Linked DNA regions of Homo sapiens: region 2 is linked to region 1. The links are contacts of gene promoters, found by promoter capture Hi-C in human tissues and cell types (Jung and others, 2019). All regions are on one chromosome and are shown on one strand. The core of a region is centred on a gene start or on the middle of the fragment in contact, and the rest is flanking DNA. Distances in the headings are between cores, read along the strand shown.

Region 1 (4,563 bases), core at 1,619-4,118:
TGGGCTCCACTTCTCGGCTTCTACAGCCAGGTTCTGGGACCTGCAGCGCGCAAGAGGAGCTCTCTTCCACGGGGCTGCCCCGCAGGGCCCGAGGCGCCCAGGACTTTGCAACCCCTGCCCTGTTCGCCCCAGAATCATCCAGAGCAGCCCCCGCCCACTACCTGGCCCTCCACACCCTCCCTCCCGCCTCCGCCTCAGCCTCATCCTAGCGCTGCAGCCCACCCGCGTGGGGGCGGAATCCGCCCGGCACACACGTGTGCGGATTATTAAGCAGCCGAGCTAGGGCCGCCGCGGTCTCCACGCAGCAACCTCTGCTAATTGCGGGGGAAGGCAGCCGGAGCGTGCGGAACTCGAGGGAACCGAGAGTGAGCTCAGAGGCTGAGTTGCCTGCCTGGAAAGGAGGAAGCCCCGGGCCCAGTTAGGCTTGGAGTGCAGGGGAAAGGGCGGGAAGTTTTGCGGAGTTGCGTGGCAGGTGTTTCCTCTCCACGCAGGGGCTCGGCTGGAAAAAGCCAGGTCCTGTCCCTTGGGCTCCTGCCCTCACCCCGCTGCGACACACACGCCCCAGCACACCTCACAGGGCACAACCCTCTTTTCCCTAGACTTTAGCTGCCTCGCCTTCCAATTCCCAGCCAGTCCAGTGCTGACCAGAGGCCGCTGCCAGTCGGGCCCTGCTCAGCAGGCGCTGCCTCCGCAGCCGGCAATGTCAGAGGCACCGGCCAAGGCATCCGGACTGAGCCGGGCGGGTGGGCAGAGGGTCGGCGTCTGCAAGAAGCTCCCCAGTCCCGAGCGACCACGAGCTTGGGTGACTAAGACCCACTGTTTGCGATCCCCGAGATCTCGGGGCGCATTCCCGCAGACACCCCCTTGTGAGGGTGGATGCCGGTGAGGAGGAGCTGGTGCTGAGCGGTCAGCTTTCACGGAGCCCTGGACGCCCCGTGGAGGCAAGTGCAGGGAGGGGAAGCCCAGGCGGCACGTCTCTCCCCCGCTCTCCAGGCAGATCTGGAGTTTCCTAATGAACCAGATACAGTCCTCCTTCGCCCTGCCAATCACTCTTCCATCTGGACCACTGGAGGAAAAGGAAATGGGTGGAAAAGAAGATGGAAGAATCTAGAGAGGACGGGGAAATATTATGTAGGGAAAAAAGCAAGTGACCATTGAAAAAAAATCGTAAGATTGGACTCCAACCTTTAAAAATGAAACGAAAGAAAAACCCTTTGTAGATACAGATACTCCCGGGAACATCTATGGAAGTGCTGACTGATAAAGAAAGCATCTAAGGAGGCTAAAAATGAGGACAGGGGCAGGTATTTCCAATGTGAAAACCAATCAGTATTCTCTCTCTCTCTGTCTCTCTCCCTCTTTCTCGCCCTGTCTCAAAAGGGAGCTTATGTTCTTTCCCGGAGAATAAACAAGTACACAAGCTATTGCCAGCCTTGAGGTCGCAGCCTGTAGGCTACTTAGAAGAAAACATTCCCCAACTCATTCAGGGAGAAAACCAAGCTCACAGAGCCCCAAGCCCAGGAGCCACCCAGAGAAACTCCTTCCCCTGACCAGCGTAGAAGGAGGATACCCGTGCGCCCACAGTGAATGTATCTGACTTGGAAGCCGGTCCAGAACTCCTAGCCTGTTTCACGCACCTTGCCAACACCTTACAACTTGCAAGGAGCGAAGTCCGGGGGAGAGGAAAGCGGGGGCGACCTTCTAGAGGCAGCTACTCCTCGCCGGCTGAGGACGTTGGAGAGGGAAGGAGGAGAGGAGGAATGGGGTGTATGGGTGCGAGGAGGCCGGGCCGGCGGAGACCTTTGCCTATTGGTACCAAAACCCCCGTAGAGAGCCCGAACTTTCCAGGCCGGCTTCACCCGGGACGCTTTCCCAGGCGCGTCGGGTCCGGGGAGAAAGTCCTGGGAACTGCCCCTCAGCCACCCCGACCCGTGGAGTCCACGTCTCGGAGGAGGCAACACCGCCCCGGCGGAGCACAGTTCCAGCCCAACTCGTATTGGGTTCCTTTCTCCTTGACACCCTGTACTGCCGAGAAAAAGAGATCTCTCCTGTGAGCCCAAGAGAGGGGGAAGGAATGGCGGGGTGGGGCGGGGGCCCAGGAGGGCTGGGGAGAGCGCGATGGAAGCTCCCTCCCGTGCATCGCGTTCCCCGAGCTTCGGCGATGGAGCAGCGCCGGGCAGAGGCGGCCACTCCGTACCCTGCGGTCCCCAAAACGCACACTCGCGTCCGCACACGGGGCCTCCGAGGGCTCTACCGCCTCCCCGGCCAGGAGCAAGTCCGTCTTACCCTTCGCTGCAGTGAGGAGCCTCGCGCACAGCACCAGCAGCCCGAGAAGCAGGAGCAGCGACTGGAATCTCCTCCACGCAGTCATGTCTGCAGATACTCCACACGCACGCGACACCGATGGCTCCTCCGAGGAAGGCAGGGCTATGAGCGGAGCCAAATAATCACCCGAGGGCAAGGCGAGCCGGAGAGAGAGCCCGGTCCCAAGACCCGCCGCGCATCCGACGCCTCCTGAAGGTCTGGGCGCCCGGCTCGCTTCCCTCTCATAGCATCGGGTCCCGAGCCACTGCAGGGCTGAGCTGCTCCGAGCGCGGAGACCCGGGCTGGCGGGGCCGGGGCCGGGGACGAGCGCCGGCCGAGCCGGGCAGGAAGGCACCAAGGCGGCGAGGCTGCGGGAGGGGGAGAAGCGGGGAGAGGAGCGCGCGCAGCCAGGAGAGACCTGGAGAGGAGGCAGCTGGAGAGAGAGCCAGCGAGTGGGAGATGCGGGGAGGGGGGCGCGGGGGGGAGGAGAGATCCAGTCTAGAGAGAAAAGGCGGAGAGCGCAGAAGAAGGGCTGCTAGTGGCACAAGGAGCCGCTGCCGTGGAGGCTGGACTCAACCATCCTTACCCACAGAGAGGGGACCGAGGCTGGGCACGGCGCAGTCCCAGACAGACAGAGCCCAGCCTCGGGGCCTCGGGCTGCCCGCACCGTGCTGCGCTTCATTCGGCCTCAGCGCAGCAGCGCGCAGGCTGGAGAAAGGAGACTTGTTGGGCGCTCGGGTGGGGGAAGCTCACGCCGCACACCGGGGAGGAACAATGTAATCCGGCAACTCCAGCAAACTGGAGGGTTTCTGCAGGGGCAGAGTCCCGCCTCCATCCTTTGATCTCCCTTCCTTGCTGACCAGAGAGCAGCCCCCTACCTAACTTAGATCAGAAATGCAGGTGGAAAGGGCACAAGCTTCAACTCCAAGGGAGGAATATATTTATACATTTATATATATATATATATGATGATATGTATAATGTTTTGCAAGATGGACTATTTGCAAGGAGTTACACAAATTTACACATTTCCTGACTTTGGATTGTGTTAGATTTAGCCATGCCCAAACTTCAGCTTCAGATAAAACGTGACATGAGGAAGTCTCTAGAATTAATATTATGGTCTGGTTGTGAGAGCCGGCATGTTGGCACAGCTTCTGATGAAACTATATATAAAATTCTGTGGGTTGGGAAGGGACCTTAAAAGAGAAGAGACAGGTTCTCCCTGATTCTGCAAAAGGATGAAGCCCGCAGAGAGAGAACAGTGCTTTAGAATAGCAGTACTTGATACAGTAAACTGGATTTCACCCAGCTCCCCAAATAGAGGAGGCATTCCTGCAGTTCCTGGGGAACGTGTAAGGAGAGACATTTTAGGAGAAGGTGGTCAGTTAATAGAAACACCACGAGTGAGGGCTGGTTTCCATAGAAGGACATTTAAAGGATTCGACATCCTTGACCAAAAAGGTTTAGCCCTTTCAGAGGACAGAACGTGGAAATCCCATACCCTAGTAAGAGAGAATTAGCCTCCAGGCCTGGAACCATTAGAGTATACAACCATCTACCTGCGGTATCCCCACAGCACCGAATGCCTGTGGTGGGAGGGACAGCCCACCGCTTCATCCCACCTGCACTTCCTCTGTCAGTCTTTGAGATTAAATGGGTTGACAGTTTGATAAAGTTTTATATCCCTCCTTCAATTTTCTTAGATTGCTCCTGCCTCTGTGACCTAGTCTACCCTAGAAAGGCATAATGGATCCAGGAAGGACTGCAACCTTGGCATGGAAACACCGAAGCCTGACTTTCTTAGTCTCCCTGCAGCCTAAGGTGCAGGTGGCCACAATTGGGGCCACCTCCACAACCCTTTTCTCCTCGCAGATATATGAGATTTAAATATGGGGTGGGTGGGGAGGGAGAGAATGCGTGCTCTTGGAGTTGCAGTCCTGAACATGACTTGGATTTTCCTCAGCGCAGAGTCCCGTCTTGCCTCATGTATCCCTGGAGGGACACTCGGAAGACAGAATGCCTCAGTCACGGGGGAATTCCCATAGAACCCCTGAGTTCTATTCTTCAGGCTGAACCGGGCCTGTGGAGCAGAGGGTCGCCCCCTCTGGGATTTTAAATCAGACCTCAGATAGTATCTGTGAGTCAGCGAGTGAACAAAAATGCTTTCCAAGACCCATTAAGTGCTCCAATAGTTCATTTCAAGCGCCTCATCCGGAAAAACGGATCTCTTTTCAGGAGCTTAAGAGCTGACTTCTT
Region 2 (4,637 bases), core at 2,059-4,558, 40 kb before region 1:
ACTCCTTGCCTTAAATCTTGGTTTCATGGTAGCCTGCAACATTCCATATGGTCCACATTAATCCACAAAGAAACTGTCTCTTTCCTGTGTCATTGCTGATAACGACTTTTAGTCTCTGCCTGAAATTGTTCACGCTCAGTCTTTGAACTGCGGACTTCACAAACCATATTTCTATTACTTGAGCTATCTCTGCTCTTAATTGCTAATTATTCTAGCCAGTCAGGATCAGAGGTGTGACTCCTTTACTACCTTCTATTAAAAAAAAAGAAAAAGAAAGAAAGAGGGAAGGAAGGAAGGAAAGAAGGAAGGAAGGAAGGAAAAGGAAACAGAACAGGGAAAGGGAAAGAGGAAGGATGGGAGGGGAGAAAGAGAAAAGAAAAGAAAAGAAAAAAGGAAAAGAGAAAATAAAAAAGAAAAGAAGCAAAAAAAAAAGAAAAACCTGCGGGGTTTTTTTAATGCCTGTGAATGACTTCTGGGACTGTGAAATGTTTTATCTGGATTTCCTACTTTTAGTAAAAAATGAGGAATCCTTGGCTGTGGTTCTACCAGAAGAATCTCCCTATATTAATAATGTTACTCACAATCTTTCTCCACCCACACCCCCTACCTTTCCTTAATATCTCTGGTGAAAGATATTTCTGAGCCTTCTCCTTTGCACAAGCTGCTTATAAAGATCAACAAAGTTAATACACTGAAGGACCACCCTGCATATACAATGAGCTATAAAATATTAATGACATTTTATTTATATATTTAGAAAAAAAAATTATTTTTTCCCCTAGGCCTGAAACTGGTGACTCCTTCAGAGCCAAGCTTCTAAACATAGTTTATCTTAAAAGGTTTTAATTATATATATAATATAGAAATACATATATATACACAAAATATATTTTACACGTAATTGTAAGCAAATATGCTGCTATATTAATGCATCCCAAATAGATCTGAATAGTCTTAATTTCACTAAATATCTTGCACAAAATAATGTCTTAAAATTATCACACACACCTCTCCTACACAGGAAAAGTAATGTAATCAAAACGTAAATAAAGCCATGTTTGCTCCGTGGAGTTAATTTGGATTTTTTTCTATAAGATAAACTATTATAGATAATAAAACGCAACAAATATTATAATCAAGTTAATTAGCCAACGCTTTTTGGGAATGAAAACAAACCCAATAAGTGAAACTGAATAATGTATGCGTTGATTCAAATGTCCACACAGTTTCACACTTAAAAATTGTAAAATGGAAGAGTCTATATTAGTGAGTCATACTTACTGGATTTCAATTACCTATGTCTAAAAGAAAAGGCAAAATATTTAAGGACATAAAAGTTTACCTTTTCATGAATTACTTAAATTCTATTTTTTCAATACTTTAATATGATTTTTAAATTTTCACTTTAAAATTATCCACACTATGATTTTGTATTTAATTCACAATTCACAATTAGAGCATAGTTGATATGGTGATTGTGGTAGAGGTTCAAATATGGATTTAAAAATCTATCAGAAGCAAAACATGGAATACATTAAAATGAGTATTAAAATGAGTATATCAAATATTGAGAGATTCCTTTATTTTTATTTGAAATTTCCTGTAATTTCAATTTATAGCTTACATCCTAATGAAACAATACTTCTACACAGTAATCAGCGTTTTTAATAACTCTGACTATATGCAGGTAAGCTTGTTGGATGTAGACTGTGATGTTGTTAACAAATGTTTTTGAATGAAATCTATACTGAACTGATTCACTGCTACATACTACAAGACATGGCAGTAATTGATACAAAAGTAGAAGGCTGTTTTTATTCCACATCCATGCATTCATACTTATACTAAAGGTTTTCCACATGTGAGATGAGAGTGACCATTAATACGTGAGCAGATGTTAAGACAAAAAAACATTATAGTCCTTAAAAGAAATATATATTCAAATGGAATTGTAACAGTTATTAACTCAAATTAACTGAATTTAATTCTCAAGGTAGAAGATACACTCAAAGTATAAGGTAGCACTCATTGTAGGAGGAAAATCTTTTATTTCCTAATGAGTTTTGCTGAAAATTTTCCAGCCTTATCTTTTGAACATATATTTCTAAATAGCCTAACTAAATCAGTCTTTTAGAAAGTACAATATCTATTCACAATTGAACTTGTTGTAACTTTTCATTAACAGATACTAAATCCTGAATCACCATTTATGGAAGGACTATGCGATCAACACATGTAATCAATATGAAGGACAAATAAAATCATTAAGATTAACACTATCACTTCAAATACTAAATAATTGCTTTATAAGGAGCATTTCTGGATGAACCCAACATCGTCCACGGTGGCAAGTTATGTAACTTGAACTGTGCCCTTATAAACCTTTATCTCAATTTGTTTCTCACTGTTGAGAAACGATTGTCAACTAGTCATAAAATTTAGTAAAGAAAAAAACTTGGCAATACTCATAGAAATACACAGAAGCAGTCAGAATTAAATGTTATTCACATTAAGAAAAGAATTATCAATATGCTATTTTTACATGTTGCTAAATTTGCCTGTTCCAAGATTTGGATGGAGATCAATACCTGTCTTTCTGCAAGGCTAATTCTCTCTGTCTTTGGTAATTTTCCCAAAATGTGGTTTGTGAACTATCTGCCACAGGAAGAATTATCTGGGATCCCTGTTCAAATGCAGGTTGCAGGACTCAACCCTGGGCTTAGAGATTGGACTACCCAGGAGTAGGGATCAAGGGTTTTGATGTTTAAAAAGCTCTCCTGGTGCACCTAATGCACAGTAAAGTTAAGAAATACTACCGAGATTACCAGAAACACAGCAGCAATGAAGACGTTACCCTTCCCACCCACCTGTTAAAAAGAATTGAGTGCTTTTCTTTCTCCAAATTCATAAACATTTCTTCCATGTATCCTACCTGTGCCAATTTAAACACATTATTTTATTTCTAAATGCCAAAGAGTAGGTTCAAATAAGAACCAACTATTTGCCATTTAGAAATAAACAAACAGAAAACACATTATGTGTTCCCTAACCTCAAGGAGCTCAGAGTTTAAGAAATTATTTTTAAACAATTACCAATTACGATATGGTGTGATAAGTGTTACAACAGAGGTGCAAATAACAGGTTTTAAATAAAGGAAGCTTGTTATTTAAAAAGGTGATATTTCCATTTGTAACTCTAAAGACACATTTTTTGTGTGTGATTGTTTTCTGATTGAAGCTGTTTCCAGGTTAGCACTCCCAATGCTGTGCACAATTGTATAGCTGACACCATTTATTGATTTGAATGATGACTGAAATTGATCACGTGGCACAACAGAATAGATGCATTCCACCTCAATTCATCTATAGATTTTATTTTTTTAAAAAATATGTTTAAATGATAAACACATTTTATCTACTTAGAACTTTTATACTTTCTAAAAGAAGGATATACTATAAAATAAAATCCTACCAAAAGCAAATACCCAATGTGTACTCATCTGAATTCATGTGTGTGAATGTTCCTTATAAGCTATCATAAACTACATAAGCACCATGGAAATATGCAGAGACTGGAGGATAAGAGCAATATTAATAATAACTGCTATTACACAGAATTACGGTTTTCCATACTTGACTTTAAGAAAAAAATTCTCATTTTCTCTTACTTTTGCTTTTGGTGTTGACAAGATTACACATACTAACTCATAACTTCAGGAATTCAGAGTACTTTGTTTCAAAATACCTGATTGAAATGATCAGTGAAAACATGTTTCTGTTTGTCTGTGACACTTTTATCTTTTAGAATGTTCCTGTCTAATTTTTCTGGGTTTTCAATGTTCTTTCTTAGACGAGAAAGCCAGCTGATTTTCTCGGGACATCCATTGCTGTATGTCAGTGGCTCTCAAAATAGGCTCTGGAACAATCGCTTCAGCATCACAGAAATGGCTTTAAATGGGACTCTTTGGCTGCACCTCCAGTTCCCTATATCAGAAACCCTCTGAGTGCAGACCTACGGGGCTGTTCCCGTTGGCTTCTACCCATTCGTGTGCACAGAAGTTTTCAGAAATGTTGCAATGCATCTTTGAAACACAGTCATCCTTAAAAACCAATAAAGTTGCATAAACTTGTAATTAATTTGTATTTTAAAAACTAAGGTTATAAATACAGAAAACAGTACTTCCCATGCATTTTATGACTTTTTATTATGATTGGTGTCTTTCATGTGTTGAGATTATTGATGCCTACTGTGTCTGTTTGGTGGATGCACTACTTCGACCGCAACTCTCACCTCTCTTTTTTTTTTTTATTGTGAGACAGAGTCTCACTCTGTCACCCAGGCTGGAGTGCAGTGGCATGATCTCGGCACACTGCAACCTCCGCCTCCTGGGTTCAAGAGACTCTCCTGCCTCAGCCTCCCGAGTAGCTGAGATTACAAGCATGTACCACTACACCCGGCTAATTTTTGTATTTTTAATAGAGACGGGCTTTCCCCATATTGGCCAGGCTGGTCTCGAACTCCTGACCTCAGGTGATCCACCCACCTCGGCCTCCTAAAGTGCTGGGATTACAGGCGTGAGCCACCACGCCCGGGCCCTCTCTTCCAAACTGCATGTTAGGTGGTGGCGTAACAGTAC

Evidence for each region. The method cuts DNA at HindIII sites, captures the fragments that hold promoters and counts their contacts. A contact is called where the count stands out against the background at its distance.
Region 2: a contact is called between a fragment that was not itself captured here and the fragment with the promoter of CSMD1 in region 1, in 3 of the 25 tissues and cell types used here (adrenal gland, hippocampus and stomach).

Annotation. Positions count from the first base shown.
Region 1 is chr8:4,992,046-4,996,608 of GRCh38, forward strand. CSMD1 (CUB and Sushi multiple domains 1) reads right to left here and starts at 2,869. Exons shown (of 70, transcript NM_033225.6): 1 at 2,287-2,869. The coding sequence starts at 2,371. The HindIII fragment of the contact is 12,651 bases long and covers 1-4,563 here.
Region 2 is chr8:4,951,161-4,955,797 of GRCh38, forward strand. All of the region lies in intron 1 of CSMD1 (CUB and Sushi multiple domains 1), which reads right to left. Among named protein-coding and RNA genes, the nearest start is that of CSMD1, 41 kb to the right of the region's middle. The HindIII fragment of the contact is 4,112 bases long and covers 1,253-4,637 here.